Regions from separate parts of the Homo sapiens genome. Here regions 1, 2, 3, 4, 6 and 7 are each linked to region 5. Evidence: promoter capture Hi-C in human tissues and cell types (Jung and others, 2019). All regions are on one chromosome and are shown on one strand. The core of a region is centred on a gene start or on the middle of the fragment in contact, and the rest is flanking DNA. Distances in the headings are between cores, read along the strand shown. Region 1 overlaps FAM168A (family with sequence similarity 168 member A). Region 2 overlaps FAM168A (family with sequence similarity 168 member A). Region 3 overlaps PPME1 (protein phosphatase methylesterase 1). Region 4 overlaps FAM168A (family with sequence similarity 168 member A). Region 5 holds the start of MRPL48 (mitochondrial ribosomal protein L48). Region 6 overlaps ARHGEF17 (Rho guanine nucleotide exchange factor 17). Region 7 overlaps FAM168A (family with sequence similarity 168 member A).

Region 1 (3,325 bases), core at 445-2,944, 290 kb after region 5:
CATTGAATCTATAAATTATTTTGACAGTGTGGCCATTTTCATTATATTGATTCTTCCTATCCATGAGCATGGAATGTTTTTCCATTTGTTTGTGTCCTCTCTTATTTCCTTGAGCAGTGGTTTGTAGCTATCCTTGAAGAGGTCCTTTACATCCCTTGTTAGCTGTATTCCTAGGTATTTTATTCTCTTTGTAGTGATTGTGAATGGGAGTTAATTCATGATTTGGCTTTCTGCTTGCCTATTGTTGGTGTAAAGGAATGCTTGTGATTTTTGCACATTGATTTTATATCCTGAGACTTTGCTGAAGTTGCTTATCAGTTCAAGAAGTTTTTGGGCTGAGATGATGGGGTTTTCTAAATATAAAATCATGTTGTCTTCAAACAGAGACAACTTGACTTCCTCTCTTCCTATTTGAATATGCTTTATTTCTTTATCTTGTCTGATTGCCCTGGCCAGAACTTCCAATACTATGTTGAATAGGAGTGGTGAGAGAGGGCATCCTTGTCCTGTACTGGTTTTTAAAGGGAATGCTTCCAGCTTTTGCCTGTTGAGTATGATATTGGCTGTGGGTTTGTCATAAATAGTTCTTATTATTTTGAGATATGTTCCATCAATACCTAGTTTACTGAGAGTTTTTAACATGAAGCCATGTTGAATTTTATCAAAGGCCTTTTCTGCATCTATTGAGATAATCATGTGGTTTTTGTCTTTGGATCTGTTTATGTGATGGATTATGTTTGTTGATTTGCATATGTTGAACCAGCCTTGCATCCCAGGGATGAAACCGACTTGATCGTGGTGGATAAGTTTTGTGATGTGCTGCTGGATTCAGTTTGCCAGTATTTTATTGAAGATTTTTGCATTGATGTTCATCAGGGATATTTGGCCTGAAGTTTTCTTTTTTTTGTTGTGTCTCTTCCCAGTTTTGGTATCAGGATGATGATGGCTTCATAAAATGAGGCCTCATAAAATGAGTCCCTCCTTTTCAGTTGTTTAGAATAGTTTCAGGAGGAACAGTACCAGCTCCTCTTTGTACTTCTGGTAGAATTCGGCTGTAAATCCGTGTGGTCCTGGACTTTTTTTGGTTGATAGGCTATTAATTACTGCCTCAATTTCAGACTTCTTATCAGTCTATTCAGGGATCTGAGTTCTTCCTGGTTTAGTCTTGGGAGGGTATATGTGTCCAGGAATTTATCCATTTCTTCTAGATTTTCTAGTTTATTTGTGTAGAGGTGTTTATAGTACTCTCTGATGGTAGTTTGTATTTCTGTGGGATCAGTGGTGATATCCCCTTTGTCATTTTTTATTTTGTCTATTTGATTCTTCTCTCTTCATTAGTCTAGCTAGCAGTCTATCTATTTTGTTAATTTTTTCAGAAAACCAGCTCCTGGATTTGTTGATTTTTTTTTTGAGGGTTTTTTGTGTCTCTAGCTCCTGCAGTTCTTCTCTGATCTTAGTTATTTCTTGTCTTCTGCTAGCCTTTTTTTTTTTTTTTTTCGAGACAAAGCTTTGATCTGTCGCCCAAGCTGGAGTGCAGTGGTGCAATCTCAGCTCACTGCAAGCTCCGCCTCCGGGGTTCATGCCGTTCTCCTGCCTCAGCCTCCTGAGTAGCTGGGACTACAGGCGCCCGCCACCACACCTGGCTAATTTTTTGTACTTTTAATAGAGGCGGGGTTTCACCGTGTTAGCCAGGATGGTCTTGATCTCCTGACCTTGTGATCTGCCCGCCTTGGCCTCCCAAAGTGCTGGGATTACAGGCTTGAGCCACCGCGCCCGGCCTTCTGCTAGCTTTTGGATTAGTTTGCTGTTGCCTCTCTAGCTCTTTTAATTGTGATGTTAGGGTGTCGATTTGAGATCTTTCTAGCTTTCTGATGTGGGCATTTAGTGCTGTAAATTTCCCTCTTAATACTGCTTTAGCTATGTCCCAGAGATTCTGGTACGTTGTCTCTTTGTTCTCATTGGTTTCAAAGAACTTCTTGATTCTGCCTTAATTTCATTATTTACCCAGGAGTCATTCAGGAGCAGGTTGTTCAATTTCCATGAAATTGTGTGGTTTTGAGCGAGTTTCTTAATCCTAAGTTCTATTTGATTGTATTGTGGTCTGAGAGACTGTTTGTTATGATTTCAGTTCTTTTGCTTTTGCTGAGAAGTGTTTTGCTTCCAATTAGTGGTTGATTTTAGAATAAGTGCCATGTGGCACTGAGAGGAATGTATATTCTGTTGATTTAGGGTAGAGTTCTGTAGACGTCTACCAGGTCCACTTGATCCAGAGCTAAGTTCAAGTCCCGAATATCCTTGTTAATTTTCTGTCTCATTGATCTGTCTGATACTGACAGTGGGGTGTTAAAGTCTCCCACTATTATTGTGTGGTAGTCTAAGTATCTTTGTAGGTCTCTAAGAACTTGTTTTATGAATTTGGGTGCTCCTGTATTGGATGCATATATATTCAGAATAGTTAGCACTTCCTGTTGAATTGTTCCCTTTGCCATTATGTAATGCCCTTTTTTGTCTTTTTTGATCTTTGTTGGTTTAAAGCCTGTTTTGTCAGAGACTAGGATTGCAACCCCTGCTTTTTTTTTTTTTGCTTTCCATTTGCTTGGTAAATTTTCTTCCATCCCTTTATTTTGAGGCTGTGTGTGTCTTTGCACATAAGATGGGTCTCCTGAATACAGCACACCAATGGGTCTTGACTCCTTACCCAATTGGCCAGTCTGTGTCTTTTAATTGGGGCATTTAGCCCATTTACATTTAAGGTTAATATTGTTATGTGTGAATTTGATCCTGTCATCATGATGCTGTTTGGTTATTTTGCATACTAGTTGATGCAGTTTCTTCATAGTGTCATTTGTCTTTATATTTTGGTGTGTTTTTACAGTGGCTGGTACTGGTTTTTCCTTTCCATATTTAGTGCTTCTTTCAGCAGCTCTTGCAGGGCAGGCCTGGTGGTAATGAAATCCCTCAGCATTTGCTTGTCTGGAAAGGATTTTATTTCTCCTTAGCTTATGAAGCTTAGTTTGGCTGGATATGAAATTCTGGGTTGAGGCTGGGTGCAGTGGCTCATGCCTGTAATCCCAGCACTTTGGGAGGCCAAGGTGGGTGGATCATGTGGTCAGGAGTTCGAGACCAGCCTGGATAACATGGTGAAACCCTGTCTTCTACTAAAAATACAAAAATTAGCTGGGCATGCTGGTAGGCACCTGTAGTCCCAGTTACTTGGGAGGCTGAGGCAGGAGAATCCCTTGAACCCTGGAGGCAGAGGTTGCAGTGAGCTGGGATCATGCCACTGTACTCTAGCCTGGGTGACAGAGCAAGACTCTGTCTCAAA
Region 2 (3,240 bases), core at 676-3,175, 350 kb after region 5:
GCAGAGGAATCAACGAGGCAAGAAGAAAAATTGAATTGTTTTAAGGGAAGGGGATTTGTAAATTGAAGTCTGATCACAGGTGAGCAGTCAGGATGAGGGAAGATTGAAGGAACTGGGTCTGTTGGATTTGAACACAAGAAAATTCAGGAGGAATCATGGATATCTTCATATCTCTAGCAAGCTGTCCAGGAGGAGAGGAAACAGACATGTTCTGTGAGGGTAGAACTAGGACCAGGAACTAGAGTGCAATGGTGCGATCTCGACTCACTGCAACCTCTGTGTCTTGGGTTCAAGCAGTTCTCCTGCCTCAGCCTCTGCACTCCAGTGGCTGAAAAAATGTTCAGGGTAAGATTCTTAATAAGTCAGATTTTTAGCTCAGAGTGAAGAATTTTCTAACTTCAGAGCTCTCCAGTCGGTGCTTTGACTCACTGAAGAGGTTCTGAGCATACCATCATTAGAAGAGTATGCTGCGGGAGGCTGAGGCAGAAGAATTGCTTGAACCGAGGAGGCAGAGGTTACAGTGAGTTGAGATCGCACCACTGCACTTTAGATTGGGCGATAGAGTGAGACTCTGTCTCAAAAAAAAAAAAAAAAAAAAAGAGTGGCCGGGCGTGGTAGCTCACACCTGTAAATCCCAGCACTTTGGGAGGCCGAGGTGGGTGGATCACGAGGTCAAGAGTTCAATACCAGCTTGGCCAACATGATGAAACCCCATCTCTACTAAGAATACAAAAATTAGCCAGGTGGGGTGGCATGTGCCTGTAATCCCAGCTGCTTGGGAGGCTGAGGCAGGAGAATTGCTTGAACCCAGGAGGCGGAGGTTGCAGTAAGCCGAGATAGCGCCACTGCACTGCAGCCTGGAGACAGAGCAAGACTCCGTCTTGGAAAAAAAAAAAAAGTATGCTGGCAGAGGCTATGCTGCCAGTCATGTGTGCCACTATAAAGGGTATTCCTGTGCTGAGTGACAAGTTGGACTCAATCACCTCTAATACCCCTTCCAACTCTATAATTCAGTGCCTGTGATACTTTTCAATAACACAACCATGACCTTTCCACTGAGTGGAAACAGTAGTTGTTGTTTTATTTCTTTTCTTAAACACAGCCATCTTTGACCAAATTGACTCTCCAGAGTAATTTCCTTTTTTCCTTGGTTTTGAAGATAAAGTAAAAGAATTTTGGCAAAGTAAATGGCAGCCAAATCCAGAGATTTTCTCTGAGTAGACTCATTTTGAGGAGAGGCAGGGAGGTTGGTAGGAATGGGTTCTGTCTCCACTCTCTACTTATTAGCTCTGTAAGAGAAGTCTTAATATCCTCTCTCTAAAATGGAACTAGTAATATATTTTGTTGACTTTGGGTAGAGATTAAATCAGATATAGAAGTGCCTAGCACAGTGGCCAGAACATAATACAGATTCAAAATTACATCCTTCCTCTTGCCCTCTTCTTTATTATCTTGAGAGAATAAAGATTTTTTTTTTGGTCATTGTTTTGGTTTTGATCACCCTAGGGGGTCATTTGCAGGGCAGTTTTCTTTTTAATTGTGAGCTTCAGACCTAAAATGTCTTCATTGCCTAAGTATTCTCCTGCTCACAAAGAAGTAAGCCTCTTTGTCTTTCTGAGCCAGGGAGTTTGTCTTCCTCTGGCCTTTTGATACTCTGCTATTTTAAGCTCCTAAAGGTAAAGTATTTTCAGAAATAGTCCCCTGATTTCTGTTGAAAGTAATTTCTAATTTCCATATTAATCAAAAAATAGCTTTACATTTCTTTAGTCCTAATCCTAGTACCAACAAGAAAAGAGGCTTAGATTGTATTGACATCTATAAAGCAATTAAAATGTACACATCAAAATCCCAGAATACCTGATCACTACTGCAGCCTTTAGGATATAAAGGAAAAAAGCTAACTTGTGTCCATTTATTCTCTTCACTCTTGACCTTCAAAAAATACAAATACAAAAGGGGCAGGCTTGTTTCTAAGGACAAAGTGATAATTATTTGGTAGGTGTGGAAAAGGCATTGCTTTTGGGATTCCCTTCCCAATTCGACCACTGACTTGCTGAATAATCTTAACCAGAAAGTTACTTCACCTCTCAACCTCTATTTGATTAGCTATAAAATGGGAGAAATCACATTAGGATTGATTTGAGGCTCAAATGAAAAGCAAATGCGAAAATATCTTTTGTATGAGAAATGAGTGAAATAGAGACGGTATGTCTTTTCAAGAACTCAGTGTACAGTCATGTGTCACAAGACTGTAGAGATCCTGAGCTCAAGCAATCCTCCTACTTCAGCCTCCCAGAGTGTTGAGATTACAGGTGTGAGCCACCATACCTGACCAGACATAATGTATTAACAGTTATAAAACTCCTGGACTCAGGCAATGCTTGAGATCCTGTAATTAATAAATAAATAAATAAGTAAAGTAAGAAGGGAAGGAAGGAAGGTAAGAAAAGAAGTAAGAAAGGAAGGAAAGAGAGGGAGGGAGGACCAAATAAAGCTCCCTGTAATGCTGCCATTATATAATATCTGCCAAATTCAAGTGAATTAAAAATAATTCCACTTGGAAACATTGAAGGAACATCCTATAATTGCCCCTAAAGTGAAAGACATCTGAAATGACAAAACAGGAGTGTGATTACCTGTGGCTGCACAATTTCTCACATGAAGCTGAGTACAGATTTTGGCTATGAGACTGGATCACCTGGCTTCCCAGATTAGACCCCTGACTTTCTTCTTGAGAAGTAGCACACCTCCAGATTGCTAATTAATCAACAAGTTAGCTACCTCAGTTCTAAAATCAGAAAATGATCAGGGGGTAAAGAGATGAATTTTCTTTGGAATTGGAAAGGATTTAGGGAAAGGCATATTAACAAAGATACATTATTAAAGCTCCAGTATTTACAAATCCCAAAGAAGCTTTTAGGGATTTAGGGATTTAATCTTTGACTTTTAAAACCAGCTTTTCATTGTCAGTCAGAATACCAGTGAGCATTTAACAACTGCAGGAAGCAGTGAGACAGGCACTTATACACTGCTAGAACAAGTACAAATTGATGGTCTTTCTAGAAAACAGTATGGCAAAGTATGTGAAGGTTCTTGGGATGTCACGTCTCTTCAAACCTCCACTATTTCCCTGAATCCCACATCTATTGCCAGGAGCTTGCAGTAGCCTCTCAGCTGATTGCTATGCTTCTCTACCCGCTTATAGTCTGTTTTCAACACATCAATCAGAGTGACCCTTTT
Region 3 (3,481 bases), core at 958-3,457, 390 kb before region 5:
ATATAAATTTAACTTTTTAAAAATCTAATGAAAAAATAAAAAAAAAAACAGAAATACTGGGATTTGATTATTTTAGTAACTCAATTTGTGACCTTGAGCAAATCACTTCACTTTGCCCTTTATTTCCCCATCTGTGTGAATAGCTCATTAAAGCCTTCCTAAGAGGCCTGATATCCATAATAAATTTAAGAAGATGGATGAAAGACTATCTAATCAGATATGAATAAACATACAGCTTGTGGGGACAAAAAAGCTGATAACATAAGAAACTGAAAGGAGAGCTTCCACATAAACTATGAACCTTCTTCACAGTTCTCAATGTATAATTATCTACTAGCTATCATTCTTTAAGAGCTTATGTGTCAGTGTCAGGAACTATAAGTGCTTTTTATGTATTATCTTATTCTCACAGCACTCTCAGGTAAGCAGAAGTATTCTCATTTTAGAGATAAGAAAATAGACTATGAGAAGTTAAATGACTCGACCAATGTAAATACCTAAGTTGGGCTTCAAACTTAGATCTTTGTCACTTCAAATATCAAACCCTTCAATGCAAGCTATAGAAAGAACAATGGACTAAAAATACGAAGTCCTGGGTTTGAATGTTGTTCCTGCCACATAATGATTCTGTGATCTTAGGCAAGTCAATGAACATTTCAGTTTTCTCATTTATTAAAAGAAAATATTAACTCCTGCCCTAGTTTACCTCATAGAATATAAAAAGGGACTACTATATACATGTCAGTTAAATCACTACAGAGCTGGGCATGCTAGCATGTATCCTCAGTCCTACCTACTCAAGAGGATGAAGTGGGAAGACTGCTTGAGCCCACGAGTTTGAGGTTGTAATGCACCAAGATTATGCCTGTGAAAAGCCACTGTACTTCAGCCTGGGCAACACAGCAAGACTCTATCTCTTGCAAAAGAAAAAAAAAGGAATTTAAGAGATAATAATAGAAAAGTAGAACTTTTTTTTTTTTGAGATGGAGTTTCGCTCTTGTTGCCCTGGCTGGAGTGCAATGGCGCGATCTCGGCTCACCACAACCTCCGCCTCCCAGGTTCAAGTGATTCTCCTGCCTCAGCCTCCTGAGTAGCTGGGATTACAGGCATGTGCCACCACGCCAGCTAATTTTGTATTTTTAGGAGAGACGGTGTTTTTCTATGTTGGTCAGGCTGGTCTTGAACTCCCGACCTCAGGTGATCCACCCGCCTCGGCCTCCCAAAGTGCTGAGATTACAGGCATGAGCCACCACACCTGGCCAAAAAGTACAACTACTGATAAACCAAAAACACGTTGAATAATGAATGGCTTTAATATTTTATAGTTCCTCTAATAGTAATAGTATATACGAAAGCAGTGACTTTCAAAAGATACTTCTCTCAAGCACACCAGGGGTGCAAAGCAAATAGGGATCTCAAATCTACTTTAGTCAGAGTAGCTCTAAAAGCTTTAATAAAGAAGTTCAAAACCACTGTTTTTGGCAACATCCATTGGCATCTATTAAAAGGAAGAGTGACACCAGGATTTCAGGCCTTACCCAAGAGAAAATATTAGTGTACTGAAAAGTGAATGGATTCTAGAGACTAAACTTAGATTGAATCCTAGCTCTGCTACCTACTAGTTGGGTTACTTTTAATCTCTGGGTCTGAATGTCTTTACCCACAATGCAGGAAAATATTCACCATGCAGGTCTGTGGACACATTAAATAACATAAAGTTACCATTACAATGTCTGGCACACAGTACTTACTTTAAAAATTGCTATTATTAAATTATCCAACAATACTTTGGAATTACTAAATCTAATCTGAAAAACTGAATTATGGAAACTCATGAAAAATCACCAACTCAGAATATGCACCCTGAATATGCAAACATGCCTAAATAATGTTTAGTGAAATTGAAGGCAAGAGATCATGAAAAATAGTTAAGAGTAAGCCACACAAGAGACTATCAAGAGAACAGGACTAACTTGTGAGTAACATAGATAGAGTGGAAGAATGGAAGTTAAGAAAAAAGCAAGTAAGCATAAGGAGACATAAAGAATGCTTTGAAATTGGTGTGAGACTTCATAAATTACGACTGAAGAAAAAGACTGAATCCTAGATTATATGCAAATGAGTAAGATACACAACTCAAAATAAGTATCCCCAGATGACAATTATGACTCCAAAATACACAATGGGTCTCACAGTCAAGAGACCCAAGTCCTAGTCCTTAACGGCCCTACCGCTAAGCTTCTAGGGTACCTTAGGAATATCTGAGTCTCAGTTCCCTCATTTATTAATACATTCCCTTATAGAATACAGAACTCTCTGAATATTGGGTTCCTCAACTACATGAAGTGGTGAAATGAGACCATGTCTATGCTTTCTCTCAGCTTTATGATTCTAAGGAGAAAGAGAATCTATATTATTACTACCATGAGACTTAGATGAAGCCTGCTTATATACCAATAAAGTAGAAAAGAAAGATACGGGAAAATAAGCCATTTGAGGACCACACAAATATTCGCCAATATATGCTCTTCTCTTCACAATACTATCATAAAGAAAGGCCTTTCTAAAGAACTTTCTTTTCCAGGATAAGCAGTTAACCTAAACCAAGAAGACCAAAGCATCTTTTTAAAAAGGTAAGTTGTCCAGGCACAGTAGCTCACTCCTATAATCCCAGTACTTTGGGAAGCCAAGTGGGGCAGATCACTTAAGGCCAGGAGTTTAAGACCAGCCTGGCCAACATGGCGAAATCCCCTCTCTACTAAAAATACAAAAATTAGCCGGGCGTGGTGGTGCATGCCTGTAATCCCAGCTACTTGGGAGGCTGAGGCACAAGAATCACTTGAGCCCGGGAGGTGGAAGTTGCAGTGAGCCGAGATTGTGCCACTGCACTCTAGCCTGGGCAACAGAGTGAGACTCTGTCTCTAAAAAAAAATAAAATGAAAAGTAATAAAAAATAAAAACGATAAATTACTAACAATTATACAATCTTCTAATCAGCAGATTTTCCTTTTTTTTTCTCTCAGTATCTTCATTCAGTTCTTCAATCTTCAGAGAACTTGTTTCTCCAAGATGAGAAGCTGAGCTCTAATTAAGCTTATCTAAGGAATGTATAATTATTAAAAATCTGATTTTCTTATGTATTTGTATAGAAGGGTGCTGGTATACTGAAAAATCAAATTTATTTTAAGAAAGGCAGCAACTAAGATATTTAACAACAATTAATGTTACATTAATATTAAACTCCAGGTTAGTTTTCCCAAATAATGTTATGGGTCAGTTTCCAAATTCTCTTTATTCATGTTATAGTCCAACTTTTCTGTCTTCCAAAGCCAAAACAATCTTCACTTTACCTTCTATGTAGCCTTCTACCTCTATTGTGCGTCTATCTCTCTATCTCCTCCTGCTAAAGTTTTCTCATTTTTCTACTGCGTATCATAGCAGGTCTCCACTCAATTCTTAGTTTCCTTCCCTGGTTTTTCCA
Region 4 (3,540 bases), core at 421-2,920, 270 kb after region 5:
TGGAGAGGGGGCCAAAAGATTTCTTTTATGGGGCTAACTGGAAAGGACTGTGGCACTTACTGAGATAATCAACATTCATAGGCTAGGTCGCACATGCAGAACAACCTACCAATCCTGTCAAATTATAAGGCTATAATCAGTCTTATTAAAATGATAGCACATATATTTCCTGAAACTATTTTATCACAATGAAACTTTATCAGCTCATTTATCACTTGGAACCTACTGGTTTCAACAAATGTAAAAGACAGTTTTCTAGATCAAAACACTTTAAGGTAGTGTTTGTTGGAAGGTCCCTGGTCTTGTGAGGTGGTTTCCTGGAACCCGTTACCAGTACTGTTTTTTTTTTTAGCTGCTTATTTCCATTTTCTTTGGGGGATTGAACAGATGTTTGACAGTGGTTTAAAATAATATATAACCACATCTTTTTTTTTTTTGAATGGCTTGACACCTGATAAGAGAGGAACAAAGCCATTGGACAGGTTATGTAGGGAGCCTCATTGATGTTCTGAATATATAAAGGGGCTGAGTTTCATTTTAGACAGGGCATCCTTTGGTGACAGCATTGATTATCCTTTTCATTCAAGGATTATAATTTCAGTGAAACATTTTGAGATGACTGCTAACAAAATTAGGTCGAATCAGGTGTGATTTATGTAATGCACCATTAATGAGGCAATGAGAAAGTCAGCCCTGTCTTTCTGTGCCCTGAAATTCTAAAGAGGTTAATTACAGGAAGGCCTTCAAACCATATGTTCCTTTGTCTTGGAAACAGTCCCATTTTTGCATAATGTGCTTTCTATGTGACTACATCTAGTTATACAGTATTCAGTACCAGCATTTATTACTTGAGTTATTTTGTTTTATATCTGAAATTATATAAAGCTAGCTTTAAAACAATAATAAAATTAGGCCAGGCGCGGTGGCTCACGCCTGTAATCCCAGCACTTTGGGAGGCTGAGGCGGGTGGATCACGAGGTCAGGAGATCGAGACCATCCTGGCCAACATGGTGAAACCCCATCTCTACTAAAAATAAAAAAAAAAATTAGCTGGGCATGGTGGTGCACGCCTGTAGTCCCAGCTACTTAGGAAGCTGAGGCAGGAGAATTGCTTGAACCAGGGAGGCAGAGGTTGCAGTGAGCCGAGATTGTGCCACTGCACTCCAGCCTGGTGACAGAGTGAGACTCTGCCTCCAAAATAATAATAATAATAATAAAATTATAATTTTAAGAGGTGAATCTGATATGCTACACTTCTTGACCTGTGATTAACCCAACAATATTGCTTCAAAAATCTATGTACTGGGCAGAGTCACTACCTGTAGTCTCAGCTACTCAGGAGTTTGAGGTGGGAGAATTACTTGAGCCCAGGAGTTTGAGACCAGTCTGGGCAACATAGTGAGACCCTATCTCTTGAAAAAAAAAATATACATATATATATGTATACACACACAAACGCACACGCACACACACACACACATACATGCTCTGGTCTTTGTGCTGCTCTCTCCCTTGTTCTCTGTGTTCCAGCTATCCTCATCATCTCTCAGCTCCTCTGAGAGCCTGTCAAGCTTTTTTCTCCTTCAGTGACTTTGCTCATGCTGTTCTTTTTCCTAAAATATTTGCCTGTTCCTCTCTCCATCATGGCTAACTACTCCTCTGTTATGGCTTGTTTAATTGTCACTGCCTTGGAATGCCCTTTCTTGACTTGCCATCCTCAAGCAAATCTCTTTTTGCTTCTTTATAAGCTTCTGTTACATGTTGTAATTATAGGATGTATTAGTCTGTCCCACTTGTCCTTCATCTCTTTCCTCCTCTAGAGTGTAAACTCTGAGGATGGGGCAGTGGCTGAGTAATGCATAATTGCATTCTCAGTGCCTAACACAATGTCTGGGGCCTGACACATGGTAGGAACTCATAACAAATATTTGTTGAAAGCCTGAATGAATGAAGGAGACCCTTACATTTTTTTTCATGGTTCCTTCCTAGGAAGCATCCCATGAAAACCAGGCAAAAGCTGCATTCTAATGGTATTCATAAGATCAGACCCACCCAGATTCAAGGGGAGGAGAAATAGTATCTACCTCTTGATGGAGTTGTGGCAAGATCACATTGTGGTAGAGCATGTGGGATGGGAGATTGTCTCAGTCCATTTGTGTTGCTATAAAGGAATACCTAAGACTGTAATTTATAAAGAAAAGGGGCTTCTTTGGCTCATGGTCCTGTAGGCTGTGTGGGAAGCATGGCATCAGCATCTGCTTCTGGTGAGGGCTTCAGGCTGCTTCCACTCATGGCAGAAGGGGAAGGGGAGCCAGTGAAATTACATGGTGAGAGAGGAAGTTGAGGGAGGTGCCAATTTTTTTTGAGACAGTCTCACTCTGTCTCCCAGGCTGGAGTGCAGTGGCGCAATCTTGGCTCACTGCAACCTCTGCCTCCCGGGTTCAAGCAATTCTCCTGCCTCAGCCTCCTGAGTATCTGGGACTACAGGTGCGCACGACCACGCCCAGCTAATTTTTGTATTTTTTAGTAGAGATGGGGTTTCACCATGTTGGCCAGGCTGGTTTCGAACTCCTGACCTCGTGATCCACCCGCCTCAGCCTCCCAAAGTACTGGGATTACAGGTGTGAGCCACTGCACCTGGCCCAAATTCGTTTTAAGAGCCAGCACTGGAGGGAACAAACAGAGCAAGAACTTTTCCCCCACCACAATTCCACGCCCCCTCCCCACATTAATCTATTTATGAGGGATCTGCCTCCATGACCTACATACCTCCCACTAGGCCCCACCTCCAACACTGGGGATCAGATTTCTTTTTAAAAAATATTTTAATATGAAAATATTTTAATTTTTAATTAATTTTTAATTTTTAATGTTTTTTAATATTTTAAAATTTCTTTTATTTCACTTAGGATAGGGGATCAAATTTCAACATGAGGTTTGGAAGGTCAGATTTCCAAACTATAGCAGAGATGTTATTGTGACCATCTTTGGAAAATACAATCTGTTGCAAGAGATTATTCCTAGCTGGGTACTGCATATCTTCCCTGGGAGATTGATTCAGCCTGGTTATAGGCCTATATACTACTCTCTAATATCCCTGGATAGTCACCACTACGGTGTAAAAGTCAGGAGTTCAGAGCTTGGTTCTGTCACTTACTAGTGATAGAAAAAGAAAACCTGTTTAAAAATGTAGTTTCTTCATTCTTTCAGGCTTTCAACAAGTACTAGTATGTGTCAAGACCTGGACACTGTGTTAGACACTGAGAATGCAGTAGTGAACCAGATTGCCTTTGCTCCTGCCTGCAAGGCAGTAAGTGGAATCATTGACAGTCCCCACTCCTTTTTTTTTGAATAGACATTTGCTATTGAGTTGTGACATAACGCTGAAAGGACTGGTTTCAAATCTTCTGCTTCTGTAATTGACCCTTGTATGAATGGCAAATGCTTCCTATTTTATGTTAAAAAGCTACAGTATCTGCCTTCGTGTTAAAAAACACTGAAGGTCATATTGGGTATTTCAAAAAGTAATTGGTATTCCTG
Region 5 (3,405 bases), core at 148-2,647:
CCTCCCTTTTAGCCCTTCTTGGAACCAAGGCAAATCAAGGAGTGTAGTCACCAGTGTGACCATCTTTAACAATGGAATTTTGAAACTTTCTGATTTTTTTTTCTATTATCTTGGCACCATATTTGGCCAAATTCTTACAAACTGGCTAAGGTGAACAAGTGAATTGTTTCATAAAGGATGAAGTGAGGCGTGGGCCCTCACACATTCAAGGGCAGCCCCAAGGTAACCACAGGTAGACCCATGAGCTGCAACGACCATGCTGACCTATGAATCATGGAAATATAGTTGCCACAATTAATGCCTAAAACAAAATTTTAATATAAATTGCTAAAATGAGTCATTAATCTAAGCAGCATGATACAATTGAAAGAGCACAAATGAAATCTGTTAAATCTGTTAAGGGAACGGGAGAAAGCCCAGGAACACATTTATAGTGGTTCATACGGTTTTATGACAGTCACTTAAATAAGGTTTTGGAAACGAAAATGTTGTTAATTATTGCAGGGCGCGGTGGCTCATGCCTGTAATCCCGGCACTTTGGGAGGCCGAGGCGGGCAGATCACGTGGTCAGGAATTCGAGACCAGCCTGGCCAACACAGTGAAACCCCGTCTCTACTAAAAATACAAAAATTAGCCCGGCATGGTGTCCCGCGCCTGTAGTCCCAGCTACTGAGGAGGCTGAGGCAGGAGAATCGCTTGAACCCGGAAGGCGAAGGTTGTGGTGAGCCGGGATCGCACCACTGCACTCCAGCCTGGGCAACAGAGCGAAATCCGTCAAAAAAAAAAAAAAAAAAAAAAGAAAGAAAAGAACAAAAACCTAGTTTATTACTGCTGTTTCCTTATTACCAGGTAGCTTCACATCCTCATCAGTTCAGCAAGTCAAAACTGCATTCTTAGAAAAAATTCTGGAAGTTGATAACTGAATGCAAATATAAAATGACCTGCCCAAGGTCACACAGTTAATCGGGACCGTATCCTGGTGTCGTGATTCCCATCGCAGAGCTCTCCCTTTTCCAGAAACTGGGTGGAGAGAGTGGCATGTGGTGTGGGCGTGGCACGGGTCGGCTCGGCAGAGTTCGCCCCGGGTGGAAAGGAATCTGCTCAGCCCCTTCAACGCCAGGCAGCCGCATGTGCTGCTGGGAAGGACCTTGGGCGCCCCAGTGTCTCATCCCCGGATGTCCGCGCGCCGCCACCTCCCCGCTCTGCACCCTCCGCCATCTCCCCTCTCTGCACCGTCCGCCATCTCCCCGCGCCCCGCGTGCGTGGAATCTACGTTACCTTTTCCAAGGTTCCGCTCATCCTTTGCTGCTGCGCGGCCTCTAGCTGTGCAAACCGAAGACCGGACCCTGCAGCCGCGTTCCCAGGGCGTCTGAAAACACTGAAGGAACGGCCTTGACCAGGTGCAGCAGCAATATCCCACCGAGACTCACTCAACTTCCACATCATTTTAGTTCCGGAAGCTTCTGAAATTCAGAGTCTAGAAATTCTCCTGCTTTCCACCCTCACTCAGGTTGTCACATTCACTGCTGTTTCTCCAGAAAGAATTAATTACCATCTCTGTGTTACCCCAGTACTTAGCACACAATTCTAATTTTTCGCTTACAATATTATACACTAATGATTTGTTACCACCTCTTCTCTGTATTTGAAAGTTCTTAAAAGACTGAGATCCTGTCTGATTAATTCCTTTCAGCGTCTAGCACAGATCTGACTTTTTTGTTTGTTTGAGACGGAGTCTCGCTCTGTTGCGCAGGCTGGAGTGTAGTGGCACGATCTCAGCTCACTGCCACCTCCGCCTCTCGGGTTCAAGCAATTCTGTCTCCAAGTAGCTGGGATTACAGGTGCCCGCCACCACGCCCGCCTAATTTTTATATTTTTACTAGAGATGAGGTTTCTCCATGTTTGTCAGGCTGGTCTTGAACTCCCGACCTCAGGTGATCCGCCCGCCTCGGCCTCCTAAAGTGCTGGGATTACAAGCGTGAGCCACCAGGCCCAGCCAATCATCTCTTAAATTGAGTTTAGAAGTCAGATTTCCACGTCCTGTGCTAGATGCTGGAATAAATTAGTCAGGATCTCAGTCCTTGAGGAACTCAATCAAAATAATAGCAAAAAATAATTAGTATCTAGTAACAAATAATTAGTATCTAGTATGGTAAGTGAAATACCAGAATTGTGTGCAAAGTACTGAGGTAACACAGATACGACAATTAATTATGCTTGGAAATATAATGGACCAGGCATACCTCCTCCAGTACAGTGATTGATTATTGCCTAATAAATGCTATTGGGGTTTTAGAAGTGAAATTTTAAATAAGAAAAAAAAAATCAATCAAATGCTAGTATGTGCCAGGTCGGTTCTTTATGGGTGTATGGGTTCATTTAGTCTTTCCAATAACCCTATGAGGCTGAGGATCATTATACCCATTTCACAGATGAGGAACAGAGACAGGAAGAAGGTACCTAGTTAACATAATGTTATATAAGTGGTGAGCTGTTTCATTTCCGTGCCTGTGCTTCATCTATTTTATGGGACTGTGACTATAGGTTTGCAAAAGGGCAGGTTGGCAGCCAGAGAGTTTCTTTCCTTGTCTAGTCCAGGTAAATACAATCTAATAAGATACATGGCCGGGTGCGGTGGCTCATGCCTGTAATCCCAGCACTTTGGGAGGCCAAGGCAGGCGGATCACAAGGTCGGGAGTTTGAGACCAGCCTGACCAAAACTGTGAAACTCCGTCTCTACTAAAAATACAAAAATTAGCTGGGCGTAGTGGTGCATGCCTGTAATCCCAGCTACTCAGGAGCCTGAGGCAGGAGAATTGCCTGAATCCGGGAGGCAGAGCTTGCAGTGAGCCGAGACGGCGCCATTGCACTCCAGCCTGGGCGACAACGAAACTCCATCCCAAAAAAAAAAAAAAAAAAAAGATACAAATCCATCTTTGCATTAATACACTCTCTGGGGTAGGTAAGGTGAAGGGAAAGGGAAAAAGAAGGAAGAAGGAGACGGTTAGTCCTTTGTACGAAGATATAAGGATTCCCAAAACAACTAGAATTTTTTTTTTGGCCGGGCGCAGTGGCTCACGCCTGTAATCCCAGCACTTTGGGAGGCCGAGGCGGGCAGATCACGAGGTCAGGAGATCGAGACCATGCTGGCTAACACGGTGAAACCCCGTCTCCACTAAAAATACAAAAAATTAGCCGGGCGTGGTGATGGGCGCCTGTAGTCCCAGCTACTCGGGAGGCTGAGGCAGGAGAATGGTGTGAACCCGGGAGGCAGAGCTTGCATTGAGCCGAGATCGGGCCACTGCACTCCAGCCTGGGCGACAGAGCGAGACTCTGTCTCGAAAAAAAAAAAAAAATCTAATCCCCATCTACCTATCTAGCCTTATTTCCAGCCTTTTTTTTTTT
Region 6 (3,593 bases), core at 833-3,332, 470 kb after region 5:
GTGCCTTTGCATCTGCTGTTCCTCTCTGCCCAGAATGCTGTTTCCCTCAGCCACCTGACCTGCTCCCTCACTTCCTCCAGGCTTCTGCTCAAATGTCACCTCCTCAGACAGGCATTCCTGATCTCTTGATCTAAAGTACCCCACCCTGTCATTCTCTACTCCCTTATCCTGCTTTATTTTTTTCTCGGACCCTACCACTCCCTGACACAGAATATCTCCATTTACAGACAGGCCTCCTCCCTAGTCTGGAAGCTCCACAAGGACAGGCTTTTGTTTTGTTTGCTGCTGTATTCCCAGGCCTAGAAGGCCTGACATGTCTTATTGCTCAGACAGTATTTGTTTAATGGATGAATGCATTACCCTATCAAAGGCCACCTGAGTCTCTGAAACAAACTTTTACTGCACACAACCTGCCATATTTCTTTCCATCTCCTAGCCTCTGCTCATGCTGTGCCCTCTTCATAGAGCCTCTCCCTCTTGCTCAGTGTTCAAGCTCAAGCTTAGGCAGAGCCTCTTCTAGGAAGTCCCTCGGCCAGTTTCCAGGCTAGTCCCTCAACATCCTAAGCCCCTTCGAGTTGGCTTCTAGATCCTACACTCTGTGTGCCTCGGCTCCCAGGAAGCCTGGGGGTGCCTCCACCCTGCTTTGGGGCAGCAATGTGTAGCCTGAAAGATCACAGATGGGAGGGTGGGAGGGAAGCAGGAGGGGTAAGTCCCTACACGGGGAGAGGGGGCTGGGGACAGGATTAGCAGCAGCCTCTCCGCCTCCCAAACCCAGCTGGTCCCAGAAACGTGGGGCTGGAAAATGTCAGACTCAACTCTAGTCCATCCCCCAACCCTTCCTCGCTGGGGAGGACTCATTCCTGGACAGTGTTCCCCCCAAGAGCCCAGGCCCTTAGGAAGGAGTTGGGAGGAGATGTGAGGAATAAACAGAGGAAAGGGGCTGCCCTTCTGCCTGTCCTCCCTCATCTCACCCCCTCCTGCTGGGTGACAAGACATTTAATTATAGATATTTGGTACCGCTCAGAATTCCAAGTGTCCTAATCACCTCCTCCTTTCCCCCCAGAACCAGTTTCCATGGAAAAATCACACAAAGAGCCAAGGAGGGGAAGGAGAGAACCTCCACCCCCGCAGGTTCCCCGCCAAAAGGGGAGAAAGAAGGGTGACTAGAAGAGCTGTTGCCAGACCTTCATCAGCAAGGCAGGGAGCTGGCTGGGTAGGGAGGGGGTCTGAGTGGAGAGGAACAAGGCCAGGGTCCTGGTGCATGGGCCTGGTTCTGCCCGCCCTTGCTGTGTGACCTTAGACCTAGCATTCTCCCTTTCTGGGTCTCAAAGTTCTTCCCATCCCAACCCCAGGCCCTGGTGAATTAAATAACCACTATGAAAGTGTTCAGGCTGTTGGGGATGTGGAGGTGACACTCCCAACTGTCTGCTGACTTGTCCCCGCTACTCAGATGGCAGGCCAATCTCCTTGGGACCCCTCACCTCTAAGACACTGATATGCTAGGATTCAGGGTGAATCCAACAGTCTTCGACTCTAAGTCTGCACTGTAAGATATCCACAGCTTTCACAGTTGAAGAATGAAACAGATAGTGTCTGGCACATAGCAAGCACTTGATAAATGTTCGTCATTGTTACTGCTATTTCAGTATGTTAAAATTTCGTGAGTTCATCTGCCTATGATGCTGAGAGACAAGTCACCCCCTGCTGTGGGCTACAGTTGTGGCATGTGTCAAACGGGTATCAGGGACCTGAGGGCAGAAGGTGGGACTGCAAGACTCTGCACTTTGAGGCTGGGGCGGGGGAAGCTCTCCCTCACAGGAAGAGTTGTTGACCAACCAGGCTACAGTGGGCCTCAGTGGAGGTAACAAGAGTGTGGGAGGGGCGGGGCAGGGAGGCCTGACAGCTCTGCCTCCTCACCTCCCGGCACACAGACAGGCATTCCTGGAATAAATGACCCATGAGCTACTGTTACTCCCTGTTCTCCTGGGTTCATGCAGCTATTGCAGACAGCTGCCTTTCTCTCCCCTCCAGCCACACCGCTGGCTCCTCCCATTTCACTTGACACCCCCTGCAGGCTGACTCCCTCCTTCTGAGCCTCACAGACCAGGCAGTCTAACCTCCCACTGTACAGATGGGAAAACTGAGAGACAAAGATGACTCTGTCCAGGTCTGAGTGAGTCAAAGGCTGAGCCAGGCCTGGCCCCAGGCCTCCCACTTCCCGGCAATGGGGGCAACACCACACAGAGCACGAATGTGGACCTGAGGGTGAAGGACTCCCTACAGCCTGGGGGGCGGGGGGCATCCCCTTAGTCCCCAGGGACTGCCAGAAGCAAAGAATGACAGCTCCTCTCGTCTCTGCTTATTCTGGAGTCCATACCACGCCATCTCCACCCACGGCCCAGGGAGCATGACTGGAGCCTCAGGCTTGAAACAAGGGAACATTGTCTCCTCAACAGAGGCCACCAGGAGGGGGTGGACAGCTGCTCCCCATATTCTGGGAGCCAGAAGGAAGGGGACAGCAGGAGGGGTTCAAGCTAGCAGATGGGAGAACTTCCAGGCTTTATGAGGGTGTGGGAAATTGGAGGATGATGGATGTTCTCAGAGGCTACTGCAGTCCACCAGGTTATACTGAGGCCCCCGAGGACCCAGCCCTGTGTTCACAAGCCAAGCCTGGTGGCTGAGAAGCAGCTGGGCAGTGCAGCCTCCATTTTTCTTCTTTCCTGCTACCAGAGAGGAAATGATCACACCACCCATTCACCACAAGAGACAGCCTGCCAGGCAGAGGCCATTACCCCCATTTTATGGAAGGGGGAAGTGAGGCACAGAGCAGGGATATGATGGATCCTAGGCCACACAGGGATCAGAAGAGCAAGGCTCACACCCTGCTCTTCTAATGACAGACTCACCAGTTACCTCCCCCTAAGGGGACATCAAGCTGGGCCTGGAAAAGTGAGAGGCCTGGAGTGGGCAAAAGCTTGGAGATCAGAGAAGGCCTCTGTTCGTGGCAGGGAGAAGCCCATGTTATGGCAGATCTGTCCCGCCTCAGAGCTCCAGAAAGGGGTGGGGGGTAGAGGAGAATGTGAAGGGAGGTGGGGCAGGAGAAGTTCTGTAAACTCCCACCTCCTCTCTGGGTCTCAAAGCCTTCTCTTAGAAGCACCCCCAACCCACCTTCAGTCTCCCTGAGTCCCTTGGTTTACTCCTGTCCTCTCCCCCATTTGAGCCTTCAAGGCTCCCAGAAAAGATATATGGGAAAGGAGGCTGGGGAGGAGACCCCTGACAAGAACTGGACCTGCTGTCTTCCTCCCCTCCCCCACCTTCAGAACTGGCACTGGAGTTCAGGGGCACCGGAGCTGCCCTCACTGGGACTCAGAAGGAAGGACAGGTTCAAAACGCCCCGCTCCCCACTCCCTGCCTGCTCTCTCTGCAGCCTCCATGAGAAACCCCAGAGCCAGGACCAGGGGTAACTGGAGACAAGGAGAGAGAAACAAAGAGAAAGGGAGTTCAGAGGGGCCATGAGAGTGCTGGGAAAGGGAGTGACTGAATCAGTCCAGGGTTTATAATTTCCAGGCTTCTCACACAGTCAGGGAGCGCAG
Region 7 (3,270 bases), core at 486-2,985, 370 kb after region 5:
TTAATGTATTTATCACAATGAAGTAGGTACCATTACTGTTCCCATATCACACGCGAGACTGATGTATCCTATAGCTATTAAGTCTCAGAGCTGGGGGTTTGGACCCAGGCAGTCAGTCTGTCTCCAGACTGCTCATAACCATGGCTCTGTGCTACAGAGCTTTCAGAAACAGGCACCTTCTGATTCAGGGGTGTCCTACTCTCCTGCATAGAAAAGGGATGCTTTCAGCTCTGCTAGGTTTCTCTACACCTTGATATATTCCTTTAAATTAGGGGTCAGCAAACATTCCTGTAAAGGGCCAAATATTTAGGCTTTTAAAAAGGCCATATGCTCTCTGTCAGTGACTACCATTGTAGCAGGAAAGTAGCCTTAGTCAATATGTAAATGAATGGATGTGGATGTGTTACAATATAACTTTGTTTACCAAAACTAGCTTCAATTACAAAAAACATGGCTGAAATTTAATTGTTTTAAATGTTTATAGTATGAATAAAAGATTCTGTGGTAAAATTAATTTGGAAAATACAGTCTTGTACATACTCCCATCTTAGAGATTCACAGTTCACCTCCCCACCTTCTTTAAGAGACAGGGTCCTGCTCTGTCACCCAGGCTGAAGTACAGTGTTGTGATCATGGCTCACAACAGCCTTAGACTCCTGGGCTCAAGCCATCCTCATGCCTCAGCCTCCCAAGTAGCTGGGGACTACACCAGCCACCATGCCTGGCTAAGTTTTTTTCTTTTTTTAGAGATGTAGTCTGTCTGTGTTACCCAGGCTGGTGTTAAACTCCTGGTCTCAAGTGCTTCTCCTGCCTTGGCCTCCCAAAGTGCTGGGATTATAGGTGAGAGCCATCACATCCAGCCCATCCTATTGTTTTAAAAACTTCTCAGGGTCATGGAATAAAAACAAAATCTTAACTGTTTATCTCTATTTTACATATGGGACTATAGAACTCTTTTGTTTCCTTTTCTTTGGCAAAAACAACTATTAAGATCCCTTGGGATCTATAGTACGTTGTCCACATTTGGGAAATGTCTATCTCTGGTTTATCTATAAAACCCCTTTATTTTATAGATAAGTAAATTGTGTCTCCGTACACATCAGATGGTTCCTTCTAGACATCTGCAAAGCTAGTCTCCCTGTCTTCCCCCACAGTATCTGCTTCTCCTCCTATGACCACATTTCATCATTAGCTCCATAATCTAGAAACTTTGAGAAATCTGCTCTAGACTTCTCACTCAGCTCATAGTTGCACTTCCAGTTAGTTTCTACTTCTCTTTAACATGCTTCCCTCTCTTTCATATGTACTTTCCATTCTATCCTCATTGTTACTTATTTCCCAAGCATATTTGATCACAAAACTATGGAAAAAACTATGGATCTGCAGGTGAAAAAATAAATGACGTGAATCCAGGAACAGGCTGACTTTTGTGGCAGCTGTGCAGCAGCTCTCCTATCCTCCTGAGTCATCAGGGGCAGGGGGGTGCTAAGCCAAAGAGGTGTGATGTGGACTGAGAAAGATTTGTGACCATGTGGTAGTTTGCTTTTACTTGGGGTTAAGGTAGAAGAGACCCAGGATCTTTAGAACCATGGAATTTTTGTTTAGGAAGAGATCTTCATTCTTAGCCACCTGATTTTACAAAATAAGAAACTAAGGCCCAAAGACTTGACAATTGTCATGAAAAATTAGGGGGAAAGCCAGGACTGAAGACTAGATGTCTTCTCTTCCAATAAAGCACTCCCTCCACTCTGCCCCTAGTCCCTTATTATATGATAGAAACAGCACCTCGGAGCTGAAAGGGTCCTTGGTGAGCATCTTATAGGTGAAAGAGCTGAAGCCCAGAGAGGTTCAGTGAGGTCTGCTAGACTTACCCAAGATGGAACCACAGGAAAGAAGCCACCTCAGCACCTCCCCAGCAGGGCTTCAAAGCCTAGGTCCTCAGGCACTGTCCCTTCAACTTAGAAGAGTTTAGAGTCTTTAGGAGAAGTTATTAAAAAGACTTGCCTTTTCTGAGCCCAGGATCCCCTTGTGTAAAGTCCAAGGATTGGAGTCCCTTGATGATCACTTGGGTTCCGTAGAACGATTCCATTTTGTGATTCTAAAAGGAGACAGTGTTGTTCCTGAATGACTCATGTTTCAAGTTTTTTTCTGTGAACAAAGGATCTGTCACTCTTTTCCGGAGGATTAAAAGGCAGCACAGTTTATTTACATGGGCAATTGTGAGCTTCTTGGGGCCTGACTTCTCAGCCCCATTCTTAGCTCCAGCTTTTGTCCATCCTGCTGAGGGACAGACATGGCCCAGGTTCCAGGTTGATGTGAATCTTTGTGATCCCTGACTTCAGGTATTTTCAGGCAGAGGTGGCCTTCCCCTAGAGCCCAGGAGAGAAGGAGGAGCCAACTCTGCAGAGCAAAGTTTTTCAGCATCCTAGAAGATGACGATCTCTGAATGGTGTTTTGTATGGTCAGCATCCCAGAAGATGAGGGTCTCCGAATGGTGTTTTGTATGGTCAGCATCCCAGAAGATGAGGGTCTCCGAATGGTGTTTTGTATGGGGTTTTCACCTTCAAACTTGGTGGGGAGGGGAGGGAACATGATGGAGGGAAGTCCAAGAAGAGAGTGAGAGAGAGAGAGATAAGGAGAAAAAGAAATAGAGCAAAAGAGAGAAAGACAGAAACAGCAGCAAAAAGATACCCTGGATTCTGTGTGAGAAGACAGAAAAGCAAGTAGAGTAGCAATAAAGAGCAAGTGAGTTGAGGGTTTCCATCTCTGTGCACCTGCCCATTTCACACAGACAGCTCCAAATCCCAGGCTGTCAGAGCTAAAAGGGACCATGTGGTTCTAGCCTCTTATTTTATAGATGAGAGCCCTGAGACCCAGAGAAAGAAAAGATGCCCAGAATCATCCATGCAGCCCTGTGCACCAGGACTGAGGGAGCTGCCTCTGGGGCCAGGGCTTTCTGGGTGGAGCCCTGTTCTCTGTTTGTTCTCATCTCTGTTTCCAGCCTGGATTCAGCCCATCTTTGTCTGGGGAGTCGTGACTGGGACCTGCTGCCTTCTAGCAATGCTTTTCTGCCAACTAACTGGAAGTCTCTCTTATTGCCTTGGTACAGGATATACTGCGGGGACACCATACAAGGTCCCACCGACCCAGAGTAACACTGCTCCACCCCCCTACTCCCCATCACCCAACCCCTATCAGACGGCCATGTATCCAATCAGAAGTGCCTACCCCCAGCAGAATCTGTATGCCCAGGTAGGTACATGTCAAAGC

The links. Contacts are between HindIII fragments. The study calls those that stand out against the background at their distance.
Region 1: a contact is called between a fragment that was not itself captured here and the fragment with the promoter of MRPL48 in region 5, in 4 of the 25 tissues and cell types used here (bladder, heart left ventricle, mesendoderm cells and 1 more).
Region 2: a contact is called between a fragment that was not itself captured here and the fragment with the promoter of MRPL48 in region 5, in 1 of the 25 tissues and cell types used here (IMR-90 fibroblasts).
Region 3: a fragment that was not itself captured here is called in contact with the fragment with the promoter of MRPL48 in region 5 in 1 of the 25 tissues and cell types used here (dorsolateral prefrontal cortex).
Region 4: a fragment that was not itself captured here is called in contact with the fragment with the promoter of MRPL48 in region 5 in 1 of the 25 tissues and cell types used here (thymus).
Region 6: a contact is called between a fragment that was not itself captured here and the fragment with the promoter of MRPL48 in region 5, in 2 of the 25 tissues and cell types used here (neural progenitor cells and thymus).
Region 7: a fragment that was not itself captured here is called in contact with the fragment with the promoter of MRPL48 in region 5 in 1 of the 25 tissues and cell types used here (lymphoblastoid cells).

What each region holds. Positions count from the first base shown.
Region 1 is chr11:73,500,274-73,503,598 of GRCh38, reverse strand. All of the region lies in intron 1 of FAM168A (family with sequence similarity 168 member A), which reads left to right. Among named protein-coding and RNA genes, the nearest start is that of FAM168A, 96 kb to the left of the region's middle. The HindIII fragment of the contact is 5,152 bases long and covers 1-3,325 here.
Region 2 is chr11:73,434,760-73,437,999 of GRCh38, reverse strand. The region is part of intron 2 of FAM168A (family with sequence similarity 168 member A); the gene reads left to right. Among named protein-coding and RNA genes, the nearest start is that of RELT, 60 kb to the right of the region's middle. The HindIII fragment of the contact is 7,386 bases long and covers 1-3,240 here.
Region 3 is chr11:74,173,001-74,176,481 of GRCh38, reverse strand. All of the region lies in intron 1 of PPME1 (protein phosphatase methylesterase 1), which reads right to left. Among named protein-coding and RNA genes, the nearest start is that of PPME1, 3.5 kb to the right of the region's middle. The HindIII fragment of the contact is 4,752 bases long and covers 1-3,481 here.
Region 4 is chr11:73,517,719-73,521,258 of GRCh38, reverse strand. All of the region lies in intron 1 of FAM168A (family with sequence similarity 168 member A), which reads left to right. Among named protein-coding and RNA genes, the nearest start is that of FAM168A, 79 kb to the left of the region's middle. The HindIII fragment of the contact is 4,700 bases long and covers 1-3,540 here.
Region 5 is chr11:73,785,866-73,789,270 of GRCh38, reverse strand. It overlaps MRPL48 (mitochondrial ribosomal protein L48), which reads right to left and starts at 1,397. Exons shown (of 8, transcript NM_016055.6): 1 at 1,279-1,397. The coding sequence starts at 1,299. RefSeq lists enhancers at 1,184-1,263, 1,404-1,463. The HindIII fragment of the contact is 15,089 bases long and covers 1-3,405 here.
Region 6 is chr11:73,313,032-73,316,624 of GRCh38, reverse strand. The region is part of intron 1 of ARHGEF17 (Rho guanine nucleotide exchange factor 17); the gene reads right to left. Among named protein-coding and RNA genes, the nearest start is that of ARHGEF17-AS1, 5.5 kb to the right of the region's middle. RefSeq lists an enhancer at 2,096-2,275. The HindIII fragment of the contact is 4,461 bases long and covers 1-3,593 here.
Region 7 is chr11:73,411,376-73,414,645 of GRCh38, reverse strand. FAM168A (family with sequence similarity 168 member A) reads left to right here. Exons shown (of 8, transcript NM_015159.3): 5 at 3,110-3,252. Among named protein-coding and RNA genes, the nearest start is that of RELT, 37 kb to the right of the region's middle. The HindIII fragment of the contact is 7,339 bases long and covers 1-3,270 here.